Linked DNA regions of Homo sapiens: regions 1, 2 and 3 are each linked to region 4. The links are contacts of gene promoters, found by promoter capture Hi-C in blood cells and fetal thymus (Javierre and others, 2016). All regions are on one chromosome and are shown on one strand. The core of a region is centred on a gene start or on the middle of the fragment in contact, and the rest is flanking DNA. Distances in the headings are between cores, read along the strand shown.

What was found. The method cuts DNA at HindIII sites, captures the fragments that hold promoters and counts their contacts. A CHiCAGO score of 5 or more calls a contact.
Region 1: a fragment that was not itself captured here is called in contact with the fragment with the promoter of PALMD in region 4 in 1 of 17 cell types (monocytes); the score reaches 6.9 in monocytes.
Region 2: a fragment that was not itself captured here is called in contact with the fragment with the promoter of PALMD in region 4 in 1 of 17 cell types (M1 macrophages); the score reaches 5.1 in M1 macrophages.
Region 3: a contact is called between a fragment that was not itself captured here and the fragment with the promoter of PALMD in region 4, in 1 of 17 cell types (M1 macrophages). The highest score is 5.5, in M1 macrophages.

Annotation. Positions count from the first base shown.
Region 1 is chr1:99,164,337-99,171,323 of GRCh38, forward strand. No RefSeq gene overlaps it. Among named protein-coding and RNA genes, the nearest start is that of PLPPR4, 97 kb to the right of the region's middle. The HindIII fragment of the contact is 3,163 bases long and covers 2,919-6,081 here.
Region 2 is chr1:99,207,913-99,215,450 of GRCh38, forward strand. No RefSeq gene overlaps it. Among named protein-coding and RNA genes, the nearest start is that of PLPPR4, 53 kb to the right of the region's middle. The HindIII fragment of the contact is 1,468 bases long and covers 1,062-2,529 here.
Region 3 is chr1:99,140,527-99,147,216 of GRCh38, forward strand. PLPPR5-AS1 (PLPPR5 antisense RNA 1) reads left to right here. Exons shown (of 3, transcript NR_033940.1): 2 at 3,510-3,604; 3 at 6,248-6,690. Among named protein-coding and RNA genes, the nearest start is that of PLPPR4, 120 kb to the right of the region's middle. The HindIII fragment of the contact is 1,577 bases long and covers 1,844-3,420 here.
Region 4 is chr1:99,644,716-99,651,850 of GRCh38, forward strand. PALMD (palmdelphin) reads left to right here and starts at 1,398. Exons shown (of 8, transcript NM_017734.5): 1 at 1,398-1,647. The coding sequence starts at 1,603. The HindIII fragment of the contact is 18,161 bases long and covers 1-7,135 here.

The DNA of each region.
Region 1 (6,987 bases), core at 3,250-5,749, 480 kb before region 4:
CTGGAAAAGCCACACACACTCAATGCCAGCCCACGAAACTATCTGGGAGGGAGGTTGTATCCTGTAAAGTCACAGGTGCGGAGCTGCCCAAGACCATGGGAATCCATCTCTTGCATCAGTGTGACCTGGATGTGATAAATTGAGTCAAAGGAGACCATTTTGGAACTTTAAAATTTGACTGCCCTGCTGGATTTTGGACTTGCATGGGCCCTATAACCACTGTGTTTTGGTCAATTTCTCCTATTTGGAATGGCTGTATTTACCCAATGCCTCTACCCCCCATTATATCGAGGAAGTAACTAGCTTGCTTTTGATTTTACAGGCTCGTAGATGGAAGGGACTTGCCTTTCTCAGATAAGACTTTGGACGGTGGACTTATGGGTTAATGCTGAAATGAGTTAAGACTTTGTGGGACTGTTGTGAAGGCATGATTGGTTTTGAAATGTGAAGACATGAGATCTGGGGGGGCCAAGGGTGGATTGATATGGTTTGGCTCTCTGTCCCCACCCAAATCTCAACTTGAATTGTACTCACATAATTCTCATGTGTTGTGGGAGGGACTCAATGGGAGATAATTTGAATCATGGGGGCAGTTTTCCCCATACTGTTCTCATAGTAGTGAGTAAGTTTCATGAGATCTGATGGCTTTATCAGGGGTTTCCGCTTTTGCATCTTTCTCATTTTCTCTTGTTGCTGCCAATGTAAGAAGTGCCTCTCACCTCCTGCCATAATTCTGAGGCCTCCCCAGCCATGTGGAAGTGTAAGTCCAATTAAACCTCTTTTTCTTCCCAGTCTCGGGTATGTCTTTATCAGCAGCTTGAAAATGGACTAATACCCTCACTCACTATCAAAAAAACATCACCAAAGGGGGAATCTGCCCCCATGATCCAATCACTTCCCACCAGGCTCCACCTCCAACATTAGGAATTATAATTTGACATGAGGTTTGGGTGGGGACAGAGGCTTAAACCATATCAGCACCTCAGCATAAGTGTCAGCTACATGGAGAAGCCTTTCATAAATCATCCAGTTTAGGGATGTAAATACCCAGTCTGTGTTTATAAATAAAATTGAGATCCAGGAAGAGGACAGATCAATGGGGTGAATGGGCGTGGGGGTGGAGGCTCAAAAAAGGCTTCTCTGAAAATATACTGAGGAAAGACCAAAGAGCAAGCCATGTGGATATCTGGACAACAAACCTTTAAGGTAAAGGGAACAGTTGTGTAAAAGCCGTGAGGCAAGATTTGGTGTGCCAAGGAAGCCATGATGGCTGGAGATGAGTGAGCGAAGAGGAGAAAGGCAGGGCATGAAGTCAGACAGCAGCAGACCAGATCATGGGCTCGTAGATAGGGGACTTATAGGCCATGATAAGGATTTGGGATTTTACAAAGAGAGAGACAGTAAGCCCTTAGATGATTGTGAGGTGAGACATTATAAAATCAAGCATATGTTTGTTTAAAAATAGCTCAATGGATAAATGAACAAAATGGAAAAAAAATTAGTCCTGAGACACAGGGCTGTAATGATATCTCCTATAGACATGGACAGGGAGAATCTTTTATCAACATTCATCTTATAAAGCACAGGGGAACTCTGAGATTCAAATGGTGTTGAACCGATTCTTGAAGGGTGACTGACCAGCCATATACAGTGACCCCTCCTAATTCTGCCTGTGCCCCACCCCAACTTTACTTTTTTCTCATAACTCTTATTTTCTAATATTCCACTTTTTGGTTGATTTATTTTTGTTTGTCTTCTTTCACTAGAATAGTAGCTTCTTGAGGGCAGGCAACTTTGTCTGCCTTAAGGAGTGCTCTTTCTTGAGTGTCTAGAACAGTGTAAGTGTTCAATGGAGAGTTGCTGAGAAGATGAATGAAGAGATGTGATAGAGTGTAGCCACGGGTATCCCATTGTACCTGAGGCCACAACGTGAGTGCTATGTGATGCCATCTCCTCTCCCAGACTCACCCTGCACCACCACACTGTGGCTCAGAGACCAGCAACACTGCCCCCCTTTCTCCTCCTTCCATGAAGTTCTGTCTCCTCTACAGGAATTACTCAATATGAAGTTTCCCTCTGGAACAAAAAGGAGATTCCTCCTTCTTTCATGGTCTAAGAAAACACATTGAGAAAACTCCAGTGGTTGAAAACGAGAGTTTTAGCATTGTTATAAAAAATAAAAATCATTGTGTACCTTGAGATCCAGGAGAGCAGCATATATTTGCAATATCCAAATCCCTAAAACAATGGCAGCTTGGACAATTTTCTAAGTACCTTATTTTCTCAACATATTTTCTGTTTAGGATATTTTTGTCAGGCTACCAGCATATGGCTAAGATTTATCTTGTTGGGTAGATCATCTGCTTTTAAATGAAATACACAATACCAATAAGCAATTTCCTGCTGTGACAGAGAAAGATTAGAAAGTACTTATGCCGCAAAAGTGCACCCATAATTATTGTTCAATTTACTTTGACTGAAAGAATGAAAAGAAAAGAAATTTGTCTCCCCAAGGTAGGTAGATATATATAAAATAGACAAGTTTAGAAGAATAGCCTCAAAATTTGGGATACAGGTTTCAATTTCATACTACTTTCAAGGTCATTCATAAACTGTAAAGTCATATTTGTTGCCAGGAGAGACTATAAATGTCATAGAGGGTAGTAAAACATGCACATACTGACTGAACCAAATTGTTTCAATGTTTTCATCTTTGCACAATGCTTTGGATTGTAAATTTAAAATATGTATATATATATATATCATTGGCAATAGAAGAAAATAGGTTGGAGTTGGCAATGACATCTAGCTGAGAATGATTAAATGCAAAATATCTTTTTTTGTGAAAGAAGAAAAATATACTACTTCTTGTGACATTAACATTTATGTTTTGGGTGAGTATATTTGATGCTTGATTAAGCTTAATATCATGGAACATAGGACAAAACATCCCTGTCGATTCTCATTTTCTGTGATATATATTAATTTTTACATTTGGTGAAGGGGTAGAAAAGAGGTAGACAAACAGAAAGACACACTGAGCTGTTTATTCCCTGTGATTTCATGTATTATGGAAAGAAAATTTCAAATCTGAGATTATCCCAGAAGACACTCTGGTTCAGTGCTTCTTAAATATTAATGTTCTTAAGAATCACATGTGGATTTTGTGAAAATTCAAATTCTGATTCAATAGTTACAGGATGTTTCTTGGGATTCTTCATTCCATGCAAGTCCCCAGGAAAAGATGATACAGCTGGTCACAGAATCATACTTTGTAAGTGCTAAGGTCTGGTCCCTCACCCAATGTGAACCTATAAAAAATGTGACGGTTGCAAAGAAAAATCTACTTCCAAAAATAAATATAACCTATTCCTAACCAAGGGAAATGTTTCTGTATCATCTAATGTTGTATATTATTTGCATCAAAGTTTACTTCTTATTGTGAAATCAGAGAATAATCAAAAAGTGACTGTATTTGAACATAGAAGCCTTACTTTATTATATTCCAAAATTTCATTCTAGGTCAGAAATCATATTATTGGTGAGATACTGTTAAAATACTGGCTTTATAATATAACCATAAATAAAATTATGGAATTAGTAATACATCTCAGAACACTTTTCTGAAAATTCCTATTAATATAAATATCTTAATCTGAATTTTTATTCTTTTAAACTCTGGATAGTTTGTTTTATGTTTGTTTAAATCTAAGTTAAAGAGAAAACTGGGTTGGGGAGAGTTTCTAGAAGACTCTTCTAGTCCAGGAGAGGTGATGATGGCTTCTCCTGGTTACTGGCAGTGAGCAGTGGAGAAATGGAAGGACCAGGAGCCAAATCAATAGGCTTTACGTCTGTGCTATTACAGACAATTTCACTTCCTCCTATGAGGCTAGCTAGTTATCTCAATGCTATTTATTGAATAATCTATTTGTCTGCCATTAATTTGAAATGCTACTTTTATCATATACCTTATGAGAAAATTATCCCACATATACTTGGTTTATCTCTTACATCTGGCCTTTTCTATTGATTTCCACATTCTGAGGCAGTACCACACTGCTTTATTACTATATACCACATTGCTGCTATATTTTAAATTTTCCCCATGCTTACTCTTCCAGATGAACTTTAGAATCAAGTAATAAAGTTCCAAACTTTCTGTTGGGATTTTGAGTAGTACTACATTGCATATTTAAATTAATTTAGTAAAACCAACATCTTTCTAATTTAAGAATTTCAAATGAAGAATAGAAGATGTCTCTATTTTCATTCAAATTTTATTTTATACTTCTTAGTAAAGTCTGTGGCTTATACATATGCATATTGTACAATTTATTTAAAGTTTTTTTCCTTGGAAATTATCATTGTATTATTATTGTAGATGACATCTCTTTTTCCTTCATTTCCCTCTATCTGGCGGTTGTTGGCATTACAGAGACTTTTACATTACCTTGTACATTATTTAGATTATTTGGCAATTTAATTTATCAGACTCTCTTATTTGCTTCTATTGGTTTTTCAGTTAATTTCTTGTCATCTCTAGGCATAGCATATAACAATATCATTTAGAGACATTCATGTATTATATTTTCTTTTCTAGTGCATACACATTGTATTTCCTTCTTTAACTTCTAACTCCTTTAACATTTCTCTGACAATATTAAATAACAGAGATGGTAGCAAGTATCTGTGTCTTTCTAGTTCATGACTTTAATAGAATACTTTTATGGCTCACTATAAAGCATTTTGCAAACCATGAGATATATATCATAGTTATACATTAAGGAGCATTTAATATTATGACACTTTTAAACATAATATCATTTTAGTGTATAAGAAATAGAAATGATATCCATCTTGTGTTTATGATTTTATTTTTCTTTGAGACAAAGTCTCACTCTGTTACCCCAGGCTGGAGTGCAGTGGCACGGTCCCAGCTCACTGCAACCTCCGCCTCCCGGGTTCAAGCAATTCTCATGACTCAGCCTCCAGAGTAGCTGGGATTACAGGCGCCCACCACCACTTGCAGCCAATTTTTGTATTTTAGTAGACACAGGGTTTCACTGTGTTGGCCAGGCTGGTCTCAAACTCCTGACCTCAGGTGATCCATCCGCCTGGGCCTCCCAAAGTGCTGGGATTACAGGTGTGAGCCACCGCGCCCAGACTGTTTATGATTTTTTTAAAAGGAATCATAGTTGAGTTTTAGCAAACCTGTTTTAGTACTCATTGATAAGATCATTTACCTACCCTTGTAACTTCTTAAAATAACTAATAAAATTAATACATTCCAGATGTTGAACTATTCCTTAATTCCAAGAATAATTCAAGTAGGTCATGTACAAAAATATTAAATACATTATGATGTTAACCATTTGGGGAGTATGCCATATTTTTGCATCAATAGTCAAATTTTGTTTTTAAATTATTATTTGCTTTACTGGGGTTTTTATCTGCACAGATTAGAGAAAGATTTGTTTTTTAAATCTATATTATCTCTCTCAGATTCCAGTGTATGTGTAATTCTCACTTTGCAAAATAATTGAAAAGATTTCTTTCTTTTTATGAAATCAGGCACAGTTTAAATACCAATGTTTCTATTTCTATTCATGCTTTGAAAGATAATCTTTGAAATCACTTTGATTGGAAATATTGTTCAAGGATCTCTTGACAACTTTCTCAAAATATTTTCCAGTTATTGGACTTTGGATATGTTTCTCTTCTTGTATCAAATTATATAATTTGTATTTTATCAACAATATCAGTTTATATTGGATTTTAGTTATTATTCATTACATATTATTGAATTTATTATTCATTAGTTGAGAAAATTATGAGTTTCTATTTTCTGAAATATTCCTATCTTTCATGATTTAATTTTCTTGTTATTGTTGGTTTTGTTTTTCTCTTTATTTGGATTATCAAATTTATTGGCAACAGAAGAAAATAGGTTGGAGCTAGCAACGACATATATCTAAGAATCATTAAATTCAAAATATAGGTTTTTTGTGAAAGAAGAAAGGTATACTACTTCTTGTGACATTGACATTTATGTTTTGGGTAATTATCGTTGATGCTTGATAAAGCTTGATATCTTGCTGTTGTTGTTGTTACTGCTGCTGTTTTCCAAGAATCAAACCTGGGGAATTTGTGTTTGATTCTGCCTTCCCCTCTTGTTCCAAAATTCATTAATATTCTTATTAAAACATTCCTATTGCTTTCCTAACATATATTTTGGTGATCTTTCCCACTTTCTTGGCTTGGACGCTTAATTAACTGATTTTGATTCTTTCATATTTGGTGGTGAAGCTATTTAAGATACCTGCCATTCTGTGCAAATCTCTGATTTCATCTCCTACTATCTTTTTGCCTGTATTTGACTCATACAAAATTAGTCATACTTTAACTAGATTTAGATATGACTCATCTGCATAGGATGCATTGTAGTTGGACTTTGTTTCTTTAATAGAGCTGACACCATCTTTTTAAAATTTAATTCTGTCCTTATGTTATTTTCTAATCAATATTTTTAATAATTATGCATGGTTTTATTCCCTCATTTATCTAATTCTTTTTGCTTGTGTGCTTGTATGCTTGTTTTTGTGCTCCCTCTGATCCTTTTATAATGTATGTGCTATATGGTCTATGTGCTTTTCCCTAAATAATTTGGAGGGCATAGTCTTTTAAAAATTATATCACTGAATACCTACCAGACTTCTTAAGGCTAATTAGAATTAACATACAATATGAGTGCTATGGTAGATATTACTGTTCACCAATGAACAGTTCCCCTGTTCTTCCCTGCATAAGAGAAGCTGTGCTCCCCTAAGACCATATAGTTATATGGGGCCCTCAGACTTGTTCTGGGCAATAAAATGTGAGTAGAAGTGACTGCGTCGTTGCAGGTAAAGGCACTGAAAAATCTGTGGCACACCCCATTCTCTCTCCCTCTCTTGAAGCACCTGTGAGGTTCCAGAAGGTGGAGCCTCA
Region 2 (7,538 bases), core at 546-3,045, 440 kb before region 4:
GGAGGCTGAGGCAGGAGAATTGCTTGAACCCGGGAGGCGGAGGTTGCAGTGAGCCGAGATTATGCCACTGCACTCCACCCTGGGCGACAGAGCGAGACTCCATCTCCAAAAAAAATAAAATAAAATAAATAAATAAATAATGGGGATATGTTCTGGGAAATGCATCCTTAGGAAATTTTGTTGTCATAAAAATGTCAGAGTATACCAACACAAACCTAGGTAGTATAGCCTAGTGCACGTATAGGCGATGTGATAGAGCCTATTGTTCTTAGGCTACAAACCTGTACAGCATGTTATGTACTGAATACTTCAGGCACTTGTAACACAATGCAAGTATTTGTGTAGCTAAACATATCTGAACATAGAAAAGGTACAGTAAAAACATATATAAAAGGCAAAATATGGTACATCTGTATAGGGCACTTCCTTGAATGGAGCTTCCAGGACTGTAAGTAGTTTCCCTGGGTAAGTGACGGAGTTGTGAGTGAATGTGAAGACCTAGGATATTACTATACACTACTATATACTTTTTTTTCTTCTCTTTTCTTTTCTTTTTTTTTTTTTTTTTTTTTTTGCACAGTTTCACTCTGTCACCAGGCTGTAGTGCAGTGGCGCAATCTCGGCTCACTGCAACCTCCGCCTCCCCGGTTCAAGCAATTCTCCTGCCTCAGCTTCCCGAGTAGTTGGGACTACAGGTGCGTGACCACCATGCCTAGCTAATTTTTGTATTTTTAGTACAGATGGGGTTTCAACATGTTGGCCAGGATGGCCTCGATCTCTTGACCTCATGATCTGCCCACCTCGGCCTCTCAAAGCGCTGGGATTACAGGCGTGAGCCACCGCACCCAGCCCTACTGTAAATTTTATAAACACTGTATACTTAGCCTATACTAAAGTTATAAAACAATATTTTTCAGTAATAAATTAATCTTAGCTTACTGTAACTTTTTATTTTATAAACTTGTTTAAAAACCTTTTGACTCCTTTGTAATAAGACAGATTAAAACACAAACATATTATACAACTGTAAAAAAATAATTTCTTTATATATTTCCTCCATAAGCTTGTTTCTATTTTTAATTTTGTTTCTTTACTTTTTAAACTTTTTTATAAAAACTAAGACACAAACACATGCACTGGCCTAGGCCTACATGGGTTCAGGATCATCAGTATCACTGTCTTTCTCTTCCACATTTGGTCCCACTAGAAGGTCTTCAGGGGCAATAATATACAAGAAGCTGTTATCTCCTATAATAGCAATGCCTTCTTCTGGAATACTTCCTGAAGGACTTTCCTGGGGCTGTTTTACAGTTAACTTTTTAATCTATAAGTAGAAAGAGCACACTCTAAAATAAAAATTAAAAGTGTAGTATAGTAAATACATAAATCAGTAGCTTAGTCATTTATTACCATTATCAACTATTATGTACTGTACATAAATGTATCCACTATACTTTTATACTACTGGCAGTGCAGTAGGTTTGTTGACACCAGCATCACCACAAACACATGAGTAATATGTGTTTGTGACTTTACAACTGCTGCAGTGTCACTTGGTGATAGGAATTTTTCAGCTCCATTATAATCTTATGGGACTATGGTCATATATGGTCCATCACTGACCAAAAGTCCTTATGTGGTACACAACTATACTTTAACATCTTATAGTTGTATATCATTTTACATAATAGAAAAGATATATAATCTTATTTAATTTGCATAGTGATCTGGTGATATGGAAATGATTACACCCATTTTATCATAAAAAACAGGTTCAGAGAGGTTAGATTCCTGGCTTAAAGCCAAAGACCCAACAGCGCAGAGCCAGAACCAATGTATTGTGATGACAGGGAAAAAAAATCTTTCCCTTTATACCAGTTTACAATCCAACATGGGTCAATATCTGCTATGGGCTGTTTCTGTTTTTCCAAAATTCATATACTGAAACCCTGATTCCCAATGTGATAGGGTTGGAAGGTGAGACCTTTGGGATGTAACTGAATTTGGATGAGGTCATGGTGGTGAAGTTCCCATGATGAGATTGGTGTGCTTATACAGGGATGAAGAGACCCCCAACTGTCTCTCTCCACCATGTGAGGAAACCAGGAAGAAAGCCCTCGCCAGAACCTGGCCACACTGGCACCCTGCTCTTGGACTTTCCAGCCTCCAGAATGATGAGAAATACATATTTGATGTTTAAGCCACCCAGTCTATGGTATTCTTGTTATAGCAGCCTGAACTAAGACAATGTAAAAGCATGAAATATTTTATTTCCTTCTGGATACAGAATCACAACAGTAGGTCCAAGTTTGGAATGGGATTAATAATGTTTTCTGACAACCAGTGAGACTATGGTGTATAAGTAGAGCATAACTGCTTCAGTGAGAATTATGTTAAGAAGAAAAGGCCTTAAACTATTGAATTTATAGGGAACATTCAATTCTCTTTGCTATAATGCAATTTTTGCCCATATCTACCTGCTCTGATTAATGATAAGGCTTATGAAAAGGACATTTGTAATGTCACAAAAGCTTCCATGCATTTTACAAAGGATATCATTAATAATCAAGTTAAAACAACCCCAAAGGAAAATATCACATTTCTTTAAAAGATTTAGTGATGCTCAAAGAATGCAATCTTGACTTTCCTGCTAATGAAATAACTCCCAAAGTTTAGAAACATTTGTAATGCTATATGTTTAAAAAAGGAATAGAAAGTATCATTTATTTTTTGGAAAGTTTGTGTGCATTATACCAGTTTGGCTTGGAATAAGTTTGTGTTTATTTATTCTTCAATTTATTAGGTCTTCATTGAATAATAATTATTTTCCCAAATGTGCACTGAAGTTGCAAAATAAAACAGACACAATCCTTGCCCTCAAATTTCTTATACTATACTGGGAAAGATAGATATTAGGAGGGTAATATTAATATTCATCAATAAAGGACATTTCAGATGTAAGCAAGGATACTATGGCAGCCTAGAGAAAAAGCATCTAACTGTGTTTAGGGTGTCAGGAAAGTCTTGAAGGAGACCTAAACTTGGCTAGATAACTTGGAGTCCAAAAAAGTCAGGGTAAGAGTTTGGAATTCCATGCAGAAGAAAAAGCCTAAGACCAGAGATTGGAGACTGGAGTTGTTGGTGAATCATGGCTAAAGAGATAAGCACAGCACAGGTTAACAGAGGTCTTGTGAACCATTTATGGAGTACTGGCTTTGACTTTTTAAGGGATTTAAGCAGCGGAATTATATAGCTGATTTACCCTTCAGTGAGAGCTTCCTGGTTGCAATGTGGAAAATGGATTTGAGGGCGTCATTACTATTAAATTTAAGACATTACCTCCATCTCTTCAGAGATATTACTTTCTGTGACAATATGATAATAAAATGTGTTTCAATATATTCCTTTTGACTATCTCTACTCCCATTCCCCTCTCCCAAACTCAGGCCCTACGCAAACCCAGTAGTTAACTGTTAATACCCCAATATAGTGAAGACAGCCCACCATAGGAAAGAAACACACACACACACACACCACACACACACACACACACACATCTTTGACTCTGTATTAGTTATTTATTGTTGCAAAACCATATCCCTAAACCTAGCAGCTTGAAATAACAACAAGTATGTATTATCTCATAGTTTCTATGAATCAGAAATTCAGCTTAGCTGGGTGGTTTTGGCTCAGTGGTCCTTAAAAGTTTTGTAGTCATCATGTTAGCTGGGCGGCACTCATCAGAAGTCTTGGCTGGAGGATCCACTTTTCTGATGGTTCACTCAAATGGCTGTTGCCAAGAGGCCTCAGTTTCTTGCCATGTGGACCTCTTCACAGGACTCCTTGTGTGGCTTCATGACATGGTGGTTGAAAATGGACACCACCTCAGCCTCAAGATGCCTGACTAGTGTTCTTAAAACGTTTATGGTTTTAGAATTTACCCAGAGGAAGGAAACACAAGTTCAGAGATGACAATTTAAATCACTTGAGACTGAGTTAATTATCTCAAATGTGACCAAAAGCCATTATGCTTGTCTAAACTTACATGGAATCATCTGAAAAGAGTTGCCTACCAGAAGAAACCTGGGGGCTAAGTCTGAAATCAAAACTAGTTCTAGACATAAAATTCTATTGGATAGAGGCAAATCTTCTTAGCTGTAATTGATGAAATAGAGTAAAAGGTAGTGGGGAATATGGGCTAGCTAAGCTAATGCTTGTTTCCAAAGACTCACTGAAGACTCAGTTGTGGCCCAAAAGATTACTCAAGAACACCTGACTTCTAGATCTAGTATAATTTGGATTCAACTCTAAGAATTCAAATCTCACATATCTACTTGGGAAACCAAGGATGATCCAAAATATTTTCGTAATACTAGTATGCAGTAATTCTTAGAAGCCCAAGTGAAAAGAAGCCAAGGGAACCTAATAATAATCTGAGTGTCATTTAACTTGAGACATTTGGCTTGATAATATTACAATAATGTGTACACCTTTATAAAGGTGTTTTATAAAGGAATTTTTATATGTATTATAAAAGAATTTTATAAAGGAATTTCTAAATGTACTATGATTTCTTGCATAAAGATAAAACCTGATAGGCAATAGAATGCATGTTAAAGAGTAAAACTCAAATGAGATTTTCAAAAACATCATGTCTACCTTAATAAATTATGTAAAAGATTGATGATCAATTAATTTTAGTGTTATCAATGAGCTTAACTACCAGGATAATTTTTCTCCCCCAAAATAAAGAGCTTACTTCATAAGAAACTTAAAAGCATGAGAACAAGCAAAATAATTATCATTTCTCAAAAACTCCACTTTAAACAGAAGGGGATTGTGTGCCTTTTCAGCATAAAACCAGCAAGAAATGATATGTTAATATTTCTAAGATGCACATCAACTTAATTAATTAAAACCTAAATGAAAAATAAAATACAGGCAATGAAGGAAACAATTTCTCTATGAAGTCTTCCTGTAAAATTACATAAGCATTTTTAATTCTGTTTTTGGCACACCTGAAAATTACTATACTTTCTGTCTTAAATTACTACTTCTTTCAAATTTTTGTAAGTTCATCATATGTAACTGAGGATGTATTATAATACCTATCAAAGCGAAAGATCCACTGGACAAAGTTAAACAAGCAAGGGAGATGTTATTCAAGGCTATTGCCATAGGGGAATGACGCCAGAGCTCAGTCTCAGCTCAACTCTGTTGAAACAAAGGCCTGGGGAGTTTTTAAGAGTTGAGAAGAGGGAATCACAGGTCAGATGTGTTTGCTAATTGGCTTTACCTAAAGGACAAGTGAATTTTCTCTGAACTTATGACAGTAAGTAGTTTTACAACTTGGAGCAAGGCATCCACTGAAGTTTGGCTCCCACCCTCCCACAGAAACTGGGAAATAGGAATGCTATCTTCCTTGGTGATTATATTTCAAAGGGATGACTCTCAGACCCTTAAGAAAGATAGTCCTGGGATGTAAAACTGGCAAAAGGATTGTCAAAGTTTTATTTTTTTTTTTATTTTTTTTTTATTATACTCTAAGTTTTAGGGTACATGTGCACATTGTGCAGGTTAGTTACATATGTATACATGTGCCATGCTGGTGCGCTGCACCCACTAATGAGTCATCTAGCATTAGGTATATCTCCCAATGCTATCCCTCCCCCCTCCCCCGACCCCACCACAGTCCCCAGAGTGTGATATTCCCCTTCCTGTGTCCATGTGATCTCATTGTTCAATTCCCACCTATGAGTGAGAATATGCGGTGTTTGGTTTTTTGTTCTTGCGATAGTTTACTGAGAATGATGGTTTCCAATTTCATCCATGTCCCTACAAAGGATATGAACTCATCATTTTTTATGGCTGCATAGTATTCCATGGTGTATATGTGCCACATTTTCTTAATCCAGTCTATCATTGTTGGACATTTGGGTTGGTTCCAAGTCTTTGCTATTGTGAATAGTGCCGCAATAAACATACGTGTGCATGTGTCTTTATAGCAGCATGATTTATAGTCATTTGGGTATATACCCAGTAATGGGATGGCTGGGTCAAATGGTATTTCTAGTTCTAGATCCCTGAGGAATCGCCACACTGACTTCCACAATGGTTGAACTAGTTTACAGTCCCACCAACAGTGTAAAAGTGTTCCTATTTCTCCGCATCCTCTCCAGCACCTGTTGTTTCCTGACTTTTTAATGATTGCCATTCTAACTGGTGTGAGATGATATCTCATGGTGGTTTTGATTTGCATTTCTCTGATGGCCAGTGATGATGAGCATTGTGTATTTTGTTTTTAATTGACACATAATTGTACATATTTATGGGACACCATATAATGTTTTGATACATGCATACATTGTGTAATAACTAAATCAGGGTAATTGACATATCCATCACCTCAAACATTAATGATTATTTCTTTGTGGTGACAAAATTCAAAATTTTCTAGCTATTTTGAAATATACTATACAATATTGTTAACTACAGTTGGTCAATGAGTACAAATGTGCAGTTAGGAGGAATGAATTCTGGCAAAAGGTTTTTTTAAAAAAATTTACATCTCAGAGAGGCAGGGAAATAATCTAAAATTATGTTTTCTAAAGCAAATGCTCTAAGAAAAGGGAGGTCAGGAGCCTAGAGTCAGGAAGAAGCCTGCCTAATGTTTGTTCAAGCTGTGGAGAACATTAAGGCTGTTTTGGTCATACCAAATCTATATTCTCACATGTTTTTCAGCTTGTCTGTTAACCTGTCACCAGCGACAGACTCTACTTTTGTGCCAGATTTCAAGTCCTTTTCCTTTATTTCAACTAACAAGTCAACTGAGGCAGGGATGAGACTCAGACACCACAAACTGGAACTCAGGGCAAATAAGTGCCCTTGACACCCATTTAGTGTAATCTCCCCAAGTCTCTAACCATATCTTCACAAATAGGTGAGAATCTCTTCTGTACAGAGACTTTCAAAAGGGCAGCCCCTGCCCTCAATAATCTCCTACAACATCTTACAGCCCTCATAGGCAAGACTTCTTTCACAAATCTAACTCAAATCCCTCATGCTCCATTTTAACCTTCTCCTAGCTTCTCTTGGAGATCATCTTTTTCTCACCCTCTGTGCAACTATTCTTGGTGTAGTTAAAACATGAATGTTCCCCCATCCATTCACTTTTGCATGCTAAGTTATTCCAATCCCATTCTATGTCTTATTTTTCACAGCTGACTCATCTTTGTGCTGTCATAGTTTAGTACAACTATTTGGTAGCTAGAGAAATTTAGATTCTAATCTTAGGTCTCCCACTTTTTGTCTGGCTATAAGCCTTAGACACAATTACAGAGGCCCAGCTTCCTCATTCTAAACTAGAGTCAATACAGTTTATTTTGAAGATTAAATGAGGTAATGGGTTGAATATGCTACAGACACCTAATAAATACTAGTGCTCTTCACCTTCCTTGTTTTCTGAACCGCTTATTTGGTGTTTTTTGACCCAGTACACTAGCCCCTGCTTTTTCCATACTGAGAAGTGAGAAAAAATA
Region 3 (6,690 bases), core at 1,382-3,881, 500 kb before region 4:
TCTCAGACAATATCCCTGCATTAAGTGATATATGACTTTATATATAAAATATACATGTTAAAAAACTTCTGCTTGTTTTTCTCCTGTTAATCTGTCTTTTGTTACAGGGGTTTCCATCTGAGAACTCAGAAAGAATAAGAGAAAACTATTTTTCCTTTCCTATAATCATATATTAAGTACAATACGTATCATGCATATTAACAATAATGACTTACTGATGGTTCGTGGTTAGTACATTGTTTAATAATGGCATCTAGATATTTTCTGTCATGTATATGGAGATCCAGTAATTTCTATATTTTTGGAAGCATTTTTCCCTTAGAAGTGTGCTGTTCTGGATATATACCCCTGGAATATTATTTTCATAATTATTGATCATTTTACAGACCCTTTCTTATTAAAACAACATAACTATTCAATAAAAAAATCTAAATCCAATGACAAGATTTCTTCAGGAAGTAACAAGTGAAATAAAAATGAAGCAGTATTATGGCTCATTTTATGTTATTTTATCCAGCTGTCATGTTAATACATTTCTGTTGACACAGTAAACCTATGGCTGCTGTTTCAATGGCTAAAAGCCTATTTATATGCACCCTATCAATGTTTTATGAATAGATTTCCCATCATATCTTGACTTAGAGCAAGATGTGTTACTTTCCTGAAGGATATCTTCTGTGATCACAGTCTCTTGATGACTTTTAAAATAAGGACTTTAGGCCAGGCGCAGTGGCTCACGCCTATAATCCCAGCACTTTGGGAGGCAGAGGTGGGTGGATCATGAGGTCAGGAGTTAAAGACCAGCCTGGCCAAGATGGTGAAACCCCGTCTCTACTAAAAATACAAAAAATTAGCCAGGCGTGGTGGCGGGCACCTGTAGTCCCAGCCACTCAAGAGGCCGAGGCACGAGAATCGCTTGAACCTGGGAGTCGGAGGTTGCAGTGAGCTGAGATCGCGCCACTGCACTCCAGCCTGGGCGACAGTGCCTCCTGAGTAGCTGGGATTACAGGCACAGGCCACCAAGCCCAGCTAATTTTTTGTGTATTTAGTAGAGACGGACTATTCTATTTCACTTGTTACTTCCCGAAGAAATCTTGTCATTGCATTTAGATTTTTGTATTGAATATTTATAGTTGTTTTAATAAGAAAGGGTCTGTAAAATAATCAATAATTCTGAAAAATAATATTCCAGGGGTATATATCCAGATTTATTCTCAACCAAGGAGGCAGAGGTTGCAGTGAGCCGGGATCACGCCACTGCACTCCAGCCTGGGCAACAGAATGAGACTCGGTCTCCAAAAAAAAAAAAAAAGAAGAAGAAGAAGAAGAAAAAAAGCACAGTAAAAATACTGTATAAAAGATTAAAATGGCACACATATATAGGGCATTTACCATGAATGGAGATTGCAGGACTGGAAGTTTCTCTCAGGTAAGTCATTGAGTGAATGCTGAGTGAATGTTAAGACCTAGGACATTACTGTACAATTTTGTACAGTATTGGACATTACTGTAGAGTAAGCTCCATAAACACTTATTTATTCAAAAAAAACAAAAATAAAAATGTAAAAAATAAGGACTTTAAAGACTCCCATTATAAAATGGGGTTATTTTCTGAAATGTGTATTGATCATTTATATATAATAATTTTTCTATGCAAATGTTTCACATAAACATTTGCTAAGGTCTCATAATATCACTAAGAAATAATAACAATTTATTTGATAAATATTTTTTGACAAGCTACTCTGTTCCAGAACCAGACAATACAATGGTAAACAAGATTGACGTGGTCCCTGATCTCCTGGAGCTTACTATCTAATGAGAAAGACATTGTTAAAAAATAAGCTTAGTTGCATTCAAATTTTAAAGAGTTTATTTGAGCATTCAGTGATTCATAAATCGGGCAGCACTGGACTGCAAATAGTTTGGCACTCCGCTGGAGAAGTGAGAAAGGAAACTTATGAAGTGTTGGCACAAGCAAGACAAACAATTATATAATTGGTTAGAGTGGCAAGTTCCTAGTTGGAGGTTAGTTGATAGTTTCTCAATGGCTAGAGGTTTGATTTGCTTTGGTAGGAACTCAAAGCGCTAGAGCCATGCCAATCTAATAGCCCCCCAGTTACAATTATTTTTAACAGCATTCATTAAAAAATAGAATTGTTACACAAAATTTATTCTTAATTGTGACAAATATTACAAAGCAAAAGCAATTCGCATTCATTACATTCATTCATTTATCAAATGTATATGTCAGGGAATATCCAGGGTGAAAAAAAAAACCATGAATATTACAGTTCTTCTATCAATAGCCTAACTTGTTATCTCTAGGAAGATAGATAAATAAAAACACAGTTAAAGATGATGAGGATAAAATAGAGACCAATAGATAGTAATACAGCATTCTAGAGGAGAGGCTAAGATTCTACCTGGGCAAGCATAAATGAAGGCTTCTCAGAGGAGTTTACATTCTGTGTGGTTATGGCAGAATAAACAGAATACGGCTGATAGAAAAGTTAGAGAAAAGGAATCTAAGTAGAGGATACTTTTAAAAAGGCAGTGGTGTACAAAGAATGATATATTCTTTAAAAAACTTGTTGTTTCAATCACAACATAGGTGGGAACTATTGTATAAAATGCAGAGCTGAAAATAAGTCCTCCTTGTCCTTTTGGAGCTCAAAGTCTAGAAGTTGAAGGAAAAAAAGTACAAATAAGTATATGTTATAAAGTGTTTATTGTATTAGAATCCTATGCCACATCTATAATCTGATTTCAAAATATCAGAAAATTATTACTTTTAAATGTAAGAAAATGATCACATAAATATCCATCAAATTAGTGTGGGAAAAGAGCAAGAGGGAATAATGATCTACTTAAATATTTAAAATATAATCTTTAACACCTTTATAATTTAAACAGTTGGGAACTGGTGAATGAATGGACAATTGTAGGCCTATGAATAAAAATAAATGAAGTAATTGAAATGTGGTACTTCAAATCAGTGGGGAAAAGTGTGTTTTAATGACAGATGCTTAGAAAAAAATAATAAATCTGAACCCTTACTTTGAGGGACCAGTGAGACTCCTCCCCCTTCCTTCTGAATTTCTCTAAGCACTTCTTGCCTCTCAACACCTCCTTACAGTCATTAATAGATTTGACAGGAAGAACTGGGTTGAGCTCCACCTATTACTCTTTTCTTTCTCCTTGGAATTGGCTTGCCTGCAGAAAGCATGCAATTGATCTACTCTCAAATATGCAGTAAACTGGTAGTAACTGCCTTCTCCCTCCAGTAGGCACCTATATTGTCTTGTGCTTCCTGTGACTGGGTGGGTGAGGCTACCTGAAAGATCAACGAGGTCTGGTATTTAGCTTAAGGAAAGAAAAAAAAATAGACTTCTAGTGTTGTTAGAGTGAATGCTTTCAAGCTTTGCTGAGGCTTGACAAAGTACAGAGCGTGTGGGTTTGTGACTCTAGCAGGTGTTGCTGGTGTATATCATGCTGTATTTTTCCAGGTATACCGATGGCTGCAGCCTGAGCCAGTGACTTTAAGCCTTGGACATCAAGCAGGCAAACCAGGCAAGATTTTGACCTTGCTGCATTACTGCAGGTATGGCAGGTTTGCCCAGAGGTGAGTGGCTGCTTTTATATAGGAAGGATTGTGGGCAAGTGGCCTTAACTAAAAAGCATGCAGGGCTCACAGACCCTAAGCTGCTGCAGCTTATCCTCTTGTCCCCAAAGGGGCAGTCTGCTCTGCCTATTGCTGGAGAGGCTGACATAGAATTCAATTTATTTTCATGCACTGGGAGGCAGCATCATAGTTCCTACTTTTAATTGCAAAGAAGCTGGTGTCCCTGTGAACTAGTGAATTTCTGATTTGAAATTGTTGGTGTTAGCCCTAAAGAGTGTTAGAAAACTGCTCCAAATCCCATCCTACACCCATAGTCCCATGGAGGGACAAATCTCGGATTCATGTGGCTGGTTCAGACGCTCCAGTATGATGCCCCTAGCATGTGGTCTCCAACTGGTCTGGATTAGTTAATAACGCAAGCTCTGACCATGGCTTTAGGGTTACCAAATCCAATGTGTATGGAATCTTGCGGGCACATGGCAGAGGTATTGATTCTTTTCAGGCCCTCAGGGACACAGCTTCAGAAGCATCCATAGCAGCAACAATTGGCTGGCACAATGGCTCACATCCGTAATCCCAGCAGTTAGGGAGGCTAAGGCCAGTGGGTTGCTTGAGCCCAGGAGTTTGATACCAGCGTGGGCAACATAGTGAAACCCTGTCTCTACAAAAAAAAAAGAAAGAAATTAAAAATATTAGCCAGGTGTCGTGGCATGTGCCTACTCGGGAAGCTGAGGTTAAAGGATTGCTCGAGCGCAGGAGTTTGAGGCTGCAGTGATCTATGACTGCAGCACAAACAAACGAACAAATAAATAAATTTTTAAAAATAGCGTTAACAACTTAAGAATCTGAGGAAAGGATTTCTCCATTTAAACAAATGTAGGGATGAAGAGAAAACCTTCCTAGGAGATAGATTTCGGGAGATAGGTCCAAACAGGTGCATGCAAAAAGCAGTGACAATAGCCATGATGGCAAAAGTCTGCCAAAGCCTGCTCTTGAGGGTGTGTGGATAGATCCTACACCCACATTCAATTCAGTGTGAGGATACCAGAAACTCAGTGTTCAAAAGCAAAATGGAAATTAAGAGATTTTACACAGAGAAATATATTTTATTTCCCTAGAGATGAGAATTCCGTAATGTCAAAATTAACCTCTCGTAGAGGGATTTCTCTCCAGTAAGTTTTATTCCACCGGCCATTGATTCTGGCAAACTGCATAGAATCAGCCTAAAATCAAGATTTGTTTTTATCTATCCCCTTCACCTATATGCCACTGTGCTCCTGCTGCTGTTGTGGCCAACATTAAGTACAAGCAGGTGTCTAGGATCACAGTGCTGCCTGAGCTAATTCGTTAGGGGCTAGAGAGTCACTCATTTAAAATCTTGGAAAGGGGAGAACAGCTATAAAATCTTTCATGTCCTTCTTAAATCTTTCAGCTTCCTTAGCATAATGTCAGTGACTAAATAGTTAATTCTGAGACTCTGGAATAATCCCTCATTCCATTAAAATAATCCCCCATTCTCTTAAGAGACAGTCTAGAATGCAGCAGTTGAAGAAACCCCAAATCCACCCAACATGAATTTTCTAGCTGAGAGGGGGCAGAATTAAATGTTTCAGAGGACAGATGGAAGACCTTTATTTCCTTGAACATTTTATTCATAAGACAAGATAATTTGATATCAGATTTGAATTCATTTTAGACTTTAATTTTGGATTTATAAAGACAGTTAATCTTTAGAATTAATTTCTCCCAGGAAATGTGGTAATATGACAAAGTTTACAGTAAAAATTTTTAGCATCTCAAGAATGTTTTCACTGATTATTAGAAGATCTTAATTTCATTGTTATGCTAACCACATGGGTAGTCATATTTTAGAAGAGAACATAAATCAAAAATAAACATTTGGCTTTGAATTTAACATTACCTTGGATTCAATTTAATTAATTACAATAGTGAGTCACTTCAGAGTCTTCCTGAGTAAAATGTGTACTGTCTACCAGGAGGATCTAGAGAGGTGCAGTGGTTGGAATAGAAGGAGGGGCTTATGAAGGTAGAAGCCGAACTGCCTGACAGGCTGCGGACCTCTGTCTTTGAGGAACTGATGGCAGAGGCCAGAAAGCCTGCTTTTGCCATCACCTGGCTGCAGTGGGGAGGCGCTGCCCAGGCTGCACGCTTCATGGAGCCAGCGGGAGCCCCGCCCCATCCAAGTTGGAGTGGGAACTTCCTGGGTGCCGTCACCCAAACTGTGGCTGCAGACCCAGGTCTCCTGCTCCAGGGACCAGGCTGGAGCCCTGCCCTCCTCGGAAGGGCTGCAGCTGCCCAAATTGCAGTTGTGGATCCAGCCTCTCTGTGCTCTTGGGGGCCTGGGGGAACCTGTGCTCTCGCAGGTTCAGAAGTGCCTGCTCCCGCTGCCTGGCTTATCCCTGCTGTTGGCACCTGCTGGATCTTAGGGCATTGTCCTGCTGCGCGTTGGGGGTGATGAACAGCAGCAGGAGGCAGACAGATTTCCGGACAGAAGGGGCGGGTCCCTCATGAGGCTCCACCTTCAGGCCAGGGAGGGCCTGAGGCTAGGATCAGGCTGCCAGTCCCATGGACCAAAGTGGGAACTTGTGGTGCCTTTTCCAGGTCCCCCCATGGCTACTCATGGAGCAATTGGCATCCACTTCCTCCTCTCTGAGGCCCACAAAAGACCCGTGCTCAGCCAGAAGCAGATAATTGGGTGACCAGCTGCAGAGAGGAACTCTCTGCTGAGAACTTCAGAGACCTGCAGAGATGATGGGACTACCAGTTCCAGAGAGGAGCTACCGTCTCCAGGGCTTCTCTACTGAGAACTGGACACTCGTTGGGGTGATCTGCCCGCGGAGAGGAGCCTTCTCCTGCTCACTCACTCCAGGGCCTCCACTCCTCCTCCTCCACTCACTCCAGGGCTTCCTCTCTGCTGAGACCTGAACGCTCAACAGGACAGCCTGCCTACAGAGAGAAGCTACCCATTGTGTGTCTCTTCTGAGCTGTTTCTAACACTCAGCAAAGCTCCTCTTCACCTTGCTCACCCTGCATTTGTCTGCATA
Region 4 (7,135 bases), core at 148-2,647:
GCCTTAGGCTGTTACACCCAGCTGTAGTGTTCTAGGAGCTAGACAGAGAAGGAGGCTGGGGGTCCAACCACTTCTCATAAAGACTGACTTAACCTTCAGCCTGTGCCTCTCCTTGCCCCGTGTCCTTGGGCAGTCCTTGATGAATGCCACTTATAAAGTCAGGCAGCTGGTGTTCCAATCCTGGCTTTGCTACTTACTAGCTATATGGCAAATTACCTCTCTGAGCCTGTTCCCTCATTTTTAAAGTAGGGATTATAGCACTTATCTCTCAGCACTTTGCAAGTATGCATTTACCTGTAGAAAGAATGCAACAAATATTAGCTATTATTATTACTAATATCAAAACTGCAAAGGAAATTAAACCATATGTTCAATGTTTGGGTTGTCCTTTTAACCTCTTCAGCTGAATGTTGATATGAAAGCGCTTAATAGCATTCAAACACATAATAATAAGGTAGTTGGTAATTAGGATTTACTTCAGCAAAATTTAATTAAAGAACCTGTAGGGAAAAGAAAACAGACAGAGCCAATTGTACAGCTTCCCAGCCTCTGCTTTGACCTAAGAGTCTCACTGGGCTTGCCTGCCTTTTTCTAAAGGATGGGCGAATATTCACACAGTGCCGGGCTCCAGGCAGTTACCAAATGTCTCATCACATTTTCAAAGGCTCACTCCTCTCTCTTGCGTAACCGGTGAGGTCAAAATGGGCACCTTCCTGAAAGCCAAGAGTGTCATTTCTGAACAGCGTCCAAGAAAGAAAACTGCATTCCATAGAAATCCAAGTCAAGCAATAACAAAAGGTGGCACTTGGTGCTTAAGCCACACTAAATACCTTGGTGGGCCAACTTCTTAATATAGTCACATTAACACCTTTGATTTCTCCATGACCTAAAGATTCCAAAGTTTGCAACAAAGTGCTGAGCAGGGGGGTCGGGGGTGGGGTGTAGACGGGGGAGAACGAACCAATGTAAATTTACCACTACATGAAGTTTAAAGTAGCTATAGATTGTTGTATTATTATCAAATCCAATCAGTGGAAGAAAGGCAAACAAGTGACTTGGCACTTCTGCCTCAGTCAAGGTAAGGCTCTCTCCCCTAGAGCTAGCAAGCAGGTAAACGAGCTTTGTACAAACACACACAGACCAACACATCCGGGGATGGCTGTGTGTTGCTAGAGCAGAGGCTGATTAAACACTCAGTGTGTTGGCTCTCTGTGCCACTCCTGGAAAATAATGAATTGGGTAAGGAACAGTTAATAAGAAAATGTGCCTTGCTAACTGTGCACATTACAACAAAGAGCTGGCAGCTCCTGAAGGAAAAGGGCTTGTGCCGCTGCCGTTCAAACTTGTCAGTCAACTCATGCCAGCAGCCTCAGCGTCTGCCTCCCCAGCACACCCTCATTACATGTGTCTGTCTGGCCTGATCTGTGCATCTGCTCGGAGACGCTCCTGACAAGTCGGGAATTTCTCTATTTCTCCACTGGTGCAAAGAGCGGATTTCTCCCTGCTTCTCTTCTGTCACCCCCGCTCCTCTCCCCCAGGAGGCTCCTTGATTTATGGTAGCTTTGGACTTGCTTCCCCGTCTGACTGTCCTTGACTTCTAGAATGGAAGAAGCTGAGCTGGTGAAGGGAAGACTCCAGGCCATCACAGTAAGTCTGCATACAGTTATAACTCATTAACGTTGTTACTTAGAGGAAGGCAGACCGTGGCCGGCTGCCCCTGTCGCTGAGCCCTCGCAAGTGGAAAAACAGAACTGTCAGCCTTCATGGACGAGTCTCTGTTTCTCTCTTAACCCTCATGACCCTCTGTAACTCTGGGGCTTCAGAACCTGAGTGCAGGGCAAACGTTCTTGATTTTCAAAAAGGCTGTGCCTGCATTTTAAACAACAATCAAAAGCTGTTAAGGCAGTCTGATTAACTATCTTTCACACTCTGTGGTGTACCTTAGAAATGCAGTTTTTCCTTAAATGTCCATTTGACTGGCATTAGATAAAAAAACAGATCCCCAACTTGGAAACTTTTTTAAGCTATGAATGCCTCAAAAAGTTAGAATTTTTTTTAAAGAGAGAAAAAGAAATTTTAAAAATGACCTGAAACTTTATATTTGTAGTGTGGTAGCATGTTCCAGAAAGCCTAAAATAATTAAAATGAATGTTAATATACGTAATTTAAGCATTAAACAAGAGAAAACTAGGTAAAAGCACGTATCAGATTAATTCTAAGATATCAGTTTCCAGCAGAGTCACAAACTGAATAAGATCCTGATAAAGGAATGCAGTGCATGCAGTGGATTTGGAAAATATTTTGTTAATACCGAGAAGGAAAATCGTACATTTTTTATGTTTGTTCCGGGAAAAAGTCAAAGCCAGAAATAAATTACTTTTCTTAAATGATCCAGCTTTCTTTTTAATTTTATAAAACCCTGTATTTGGCAGTAACTTGGAAATCTGTGTCACAATCATTTATCCCTAGCTATAACTTTTGATGTAATTGTTTTAAGAAGAAAAAGATCTTTGGAAAGCAATATCCCAATTTCTCAGCATTTTCTGCCACTGACATTAGGTATAGGAAAAAAATGAGTACTTTTTAAAAACTGATGCTAGATCAGGGATTTTTTGTTGTTGTTCTTAAAATTTTCATTGCATAACTAATTATGCTAATCCTAATTTAGATTTTTTACTAATTGATACAATATCTTAGTTTCACCCAGGAAACATTCAGTAAATTGAAATGTCTTCTTAGCCAATAGTAAGACACCAGAAGTCTATTGATAAGGTTGGCACTTTTCCATAAAACAATGCTTTGTTAAATGTCTAGCTTCTAATTATTACATTTTCCTCTCTTCAGAAAACCTTGGTCGGGATTATTGTTTGTTTTGTTTTGTCCTTTTTTGTCATTAAACTCAGCCACCATCTCAGCTGTCCTGCTTTAAGGGACAGGAACTCGGCTCTGCTCTGTTGTTTTTGGCATGGGCCTTTTACATTACAGCTGTTGTCTAAAGGTTACTTTATTAGACTGCGTGAGTTGTGTGGTCACAGGCTCCACTATTTCTAATGCTTATATCTCCTAATTAGCTAATTGAAATAGACAAGTAGACCCTTGTTCTGAATTTGCCTCTTTCAGTTGGGGGACACCCTCGCTCAAGCCCTTTTTCCCTCCAGTGTACCTTATAACTCTTACCAAAGCCACACATGTTCCAAAGATATGGCTGTATACAGTTATTTCTAAGGCTAGGAATCTTAGTCACTGAAGGTTCCAAACGCAAATAGAGACAGAAAATCCTCATAATGTCTTAAAAGCCATCAAGAGAGTAAGTAGCTTCCTGAATATGCAGATGTATGCTTTTTTGATGATTAAAAAAATTTTTGGATTATTCCATCAGCCTAAATATATCCCATTAGAAAGGATTAAACAAATCTCCCAAGTAAGATCACAAAGTAATTCTAGCTTGGAAGTAATATACTTGTATAAAGGTTGTAGGGAAAAAACTGGAAAAAGTTTATGGGAACAAATTTCTCATAAACCAGCCTACACCTCACCAGGCTAAATCCAGTCACATTTGTCACCACCTAGAGGAAAAGTGGAGCAGTGGTGTGTCCATGGAAACAACACATCCACTCTCCTCCCTCTTGGACGCCCTGGGACACGCCAGCTTTCCTCGCCCTCGCCCTTGCCTTGCCCAGGAAGCCACCTCAGCTAGTCTCTTTCCCCCTAGGAAAATAAAATCACAGAGTATGCAGAGAGTTTGCAAGAATTATTTCATTTTTGGAAATGCTTAAGCCTCAGAATCTCCAACCTAGACTAAAACTCAGAGAGTATCTTCTCATTTTAGCTTTTTCCTAGTACTTACCTACACTGAAATAATTTTTTGTATACTTCAAGAATGAAATCAGAAGGCAATTCCCCAATGCACCCAGACATAGCAACACATAGACCTCACTTTGGAGGAAAAAAAAAAAACTTTTACACTCTAGGATCTATTTGCTTTTTACATTAAAATTCGTTTCTCCAATTGCTGGCTATAAAATAAAATAATCTTCACAGTTGTATTTATTCTACCTGGTTTCAAGTGCCTAAAAAGTCATTATTTTTCACTGCAAAGAACTGAAAAAATAAACGTATATACCTAGAATTTGACAGAACAAAGATCCAAGTGCCAGTCTTTTTCTTTTTCTCAAAAAAAAAAAAAAAAAGGTTAAACACATTAAGTAGTTGAAATGTGACACTTAGGCTCTCAAATTGAAAACTAAATTACTATCGTGATGCCATTCATTTCTCATATCAGATCAGTAAATTGAATTTTAGATTAGTCAGATGTCTTCTCAAAGATTTAAAGAGAATAAGAGCAAAATTATGAAAGTATGCAGAAACAATTGTTCAAGGGTAGATACTTCAGTTTGGGTATACCAAATATAGATTCTATTTTACACAATTACTTTCATGTTCTTCCTTAATACTTTATCCATGCACCAACTCTTCCCTTACTAAATTAATGGTCAAAGTACCCCTTTGCCTAGAAGTTCAGTTTTCAACTATAATTTAAACACAGGGCTGCTTAAAATTAATTAACTATTATGTTTGATCTTTAAAATGTCTCTTGAGGCCCTTTTCAAGTCAGTACACACTTGAACAAATAGCTGATCTTTCTACAAAAGGTGAGCTAATTGGAATTCAATAGTATTTTGAAATAGACTAGTAATTTGAAATTCACCTTTAACAATACTGGAACTGAGGATACCAATGACTCCAGCATTCTCGAGAAGAGTGAGATGAAGAAGCGTGAGATGAAGGACTGAACGTACCACTGACAGAGTTATCCCTACAGAGTTACTGTCTGAAAGTGAACGTGGCCCACACTGAAGAACAACGAAAAGGCCCAGGGGTCTCTCCTCAGAAACACAAAGATTCCCTTAGGATGAGTAACATTCCGTATACTCTTAACATCTCCTCCACAGCTAATACATTTTCTTACCCCCATGCCTACAGCGACATTGGAAAATACCATTACAAATATGGATATGCTCAAACTGGAAAATTAGATCTTAAACTGTCTTGCGATCATAGACTCAGTTCTATTTGAAGGATGAACTCAGAGGAAGTTTAAGAACTAGAATCCAATTTCAGAGAACAGACTCAACTGAGAAAAAGAGAGTAAGAAGAAAGCTGACATTTTTATTCTCCTCCAGGCTTACCTTTAACTGTAAGGAATGTGTGTTATCAACACAGTCTCTCATGCCTTTATTCAATTAATGGTTATTAGGCACCTACTATGCACCAAGCCTTGTGCATTTAAATGAAAAGAAGTGAAATAAGGGGAGTCTGGAATGTGAGGAGTGGGGATGGGAGTGCATTGTAAGTTAAAATAGAGTGGTCAGGATGGGGTTCACAAAGAGGGTGACGTTTGAGCCTAGATGTGAAGGAGGTGAGTTCTGTCAAAAGTTAGACAATAAAAATAATCACAAGTACAAGCACCTGCCTAGGACTGCCTCCATTTGGAAAGGAGCCATATAAAGTCCTGACACTGGAATTTGAGCAACAGAGCCAGATTTTGCCGGCCAAAGCTGCTCATAATGAAAAAAAAAAAAAAAAAAAAAAAAAAAAAAAAAAGCTCTCACATTTCCCCTGATCAACTCCCTACTGCTTTCCACTCCCAAATACCCAAATAAATTTTTCTTGACTTGTAAATATAGGAATTTAAGAGACATGGAGTTCTTTACATAAAACAGAAATCTCCACAGTACAAAGACCAACATTAAAACAAGAACATGAGCACGGATGGGTTCTAGTTATTTCTTTAGCACATGTTCCCTGTTACAAGTGTCTCTGGGCACTCTACCTCATCTTGTTCCCTTTTTGTCAATATCTGGGCTCTTCTAACAGTCAGTAAGACAGTTAGTGACCCAAAAGCAAGACCTGCTGTGTGATTTGTGGGGCCCAAAACACAAGGGAATTGTGGTGGCCCTTGTTCAAAAAATATTCAAAATGTCAAGGTGGTGACAACAGAGCTTTGATCTAAGTGCTAGGCCCTTCTGAGCATGATGACCTGGGTGACTTCACAGGTCACAAACCCAAGAAGTCAGCCCTGCTTCTGTATTCCAGACTGGCCATACATATTTTTCCTTATTCGTTCTATCTGAACAAATAAGAGAGTAAAAACAAGTGTAAACTAGTCTGTGTCTTTAACAAAGGCATACCCTAACACGTGTTTGGATCATTGTATTATTTAGAGCTCTAAGGAATTCTTAAAGTACTAGTGGCCAAAGAATGCATAATGCCCCATTGTTAACCAACATACCTCATGATTAAGACATAGTTAGAGGAACAACTTCTAATTTGTCAGGAGCTTCCAAAGAAATTCACATGAAGATGGTACATGAAGATGTAGCAGTCTTCTAAATAAAAAAGTCCCATTCTGGAATATTCAACAATGAAACCTCAGCACAATTTTCCACAGTGCTGTACCAAGATTACATGTTTCTTCCAGAGAGGGAAAGGTTTCTTCAAACAAATGTGGTACGCCACACTTCTTTGCCAAACATAACAGCCCACCCATAAAGGACACCATGTGATGAGGTATAATAGTTTTGATAGCTCATTAAGGAAACTGCTTTTTGATAACTGGGGAAGGTTTTTCCACTGTGCAACAAAATGATAATGCTACTTTGCTAACTCCTCTACTGACAAAGATCCCCATGAACTTTCTGAACATTACTGGATGGTTGAAAGGAAAAGCTGCTTCTTTAGAAAACTGTGATTAAAACAAATTAGAGAATAAGCATCTAAGACTAACCAGAGTATAAACAAATGCAACACAGTTCAATTCTAAAACTGCAATAGGACTTCCACTTTTTAATCTGCAGTCTCTAACTACCTACCCTCTCTTAAAAAGAAATAAGAATATTTTAATTTATTTAAATGATAGTAATGTCATTTTGGGAAGAGACTCCATGAAAATTTACCACCTTAAGAAGTTCCCTTACCCAGAACCCTGTGGCATGCACATTTTCCTAAAACATCATCAAAGCAGTTTGAATGAGATCTATACTTAAAGTTTTTACATAAAATCCCAGGGACTGAGAGGATTCAGTCAAGCCACTTAAGAGGTAGAGCTAGGTTATCCTCAGGAGTTCTGAATGGA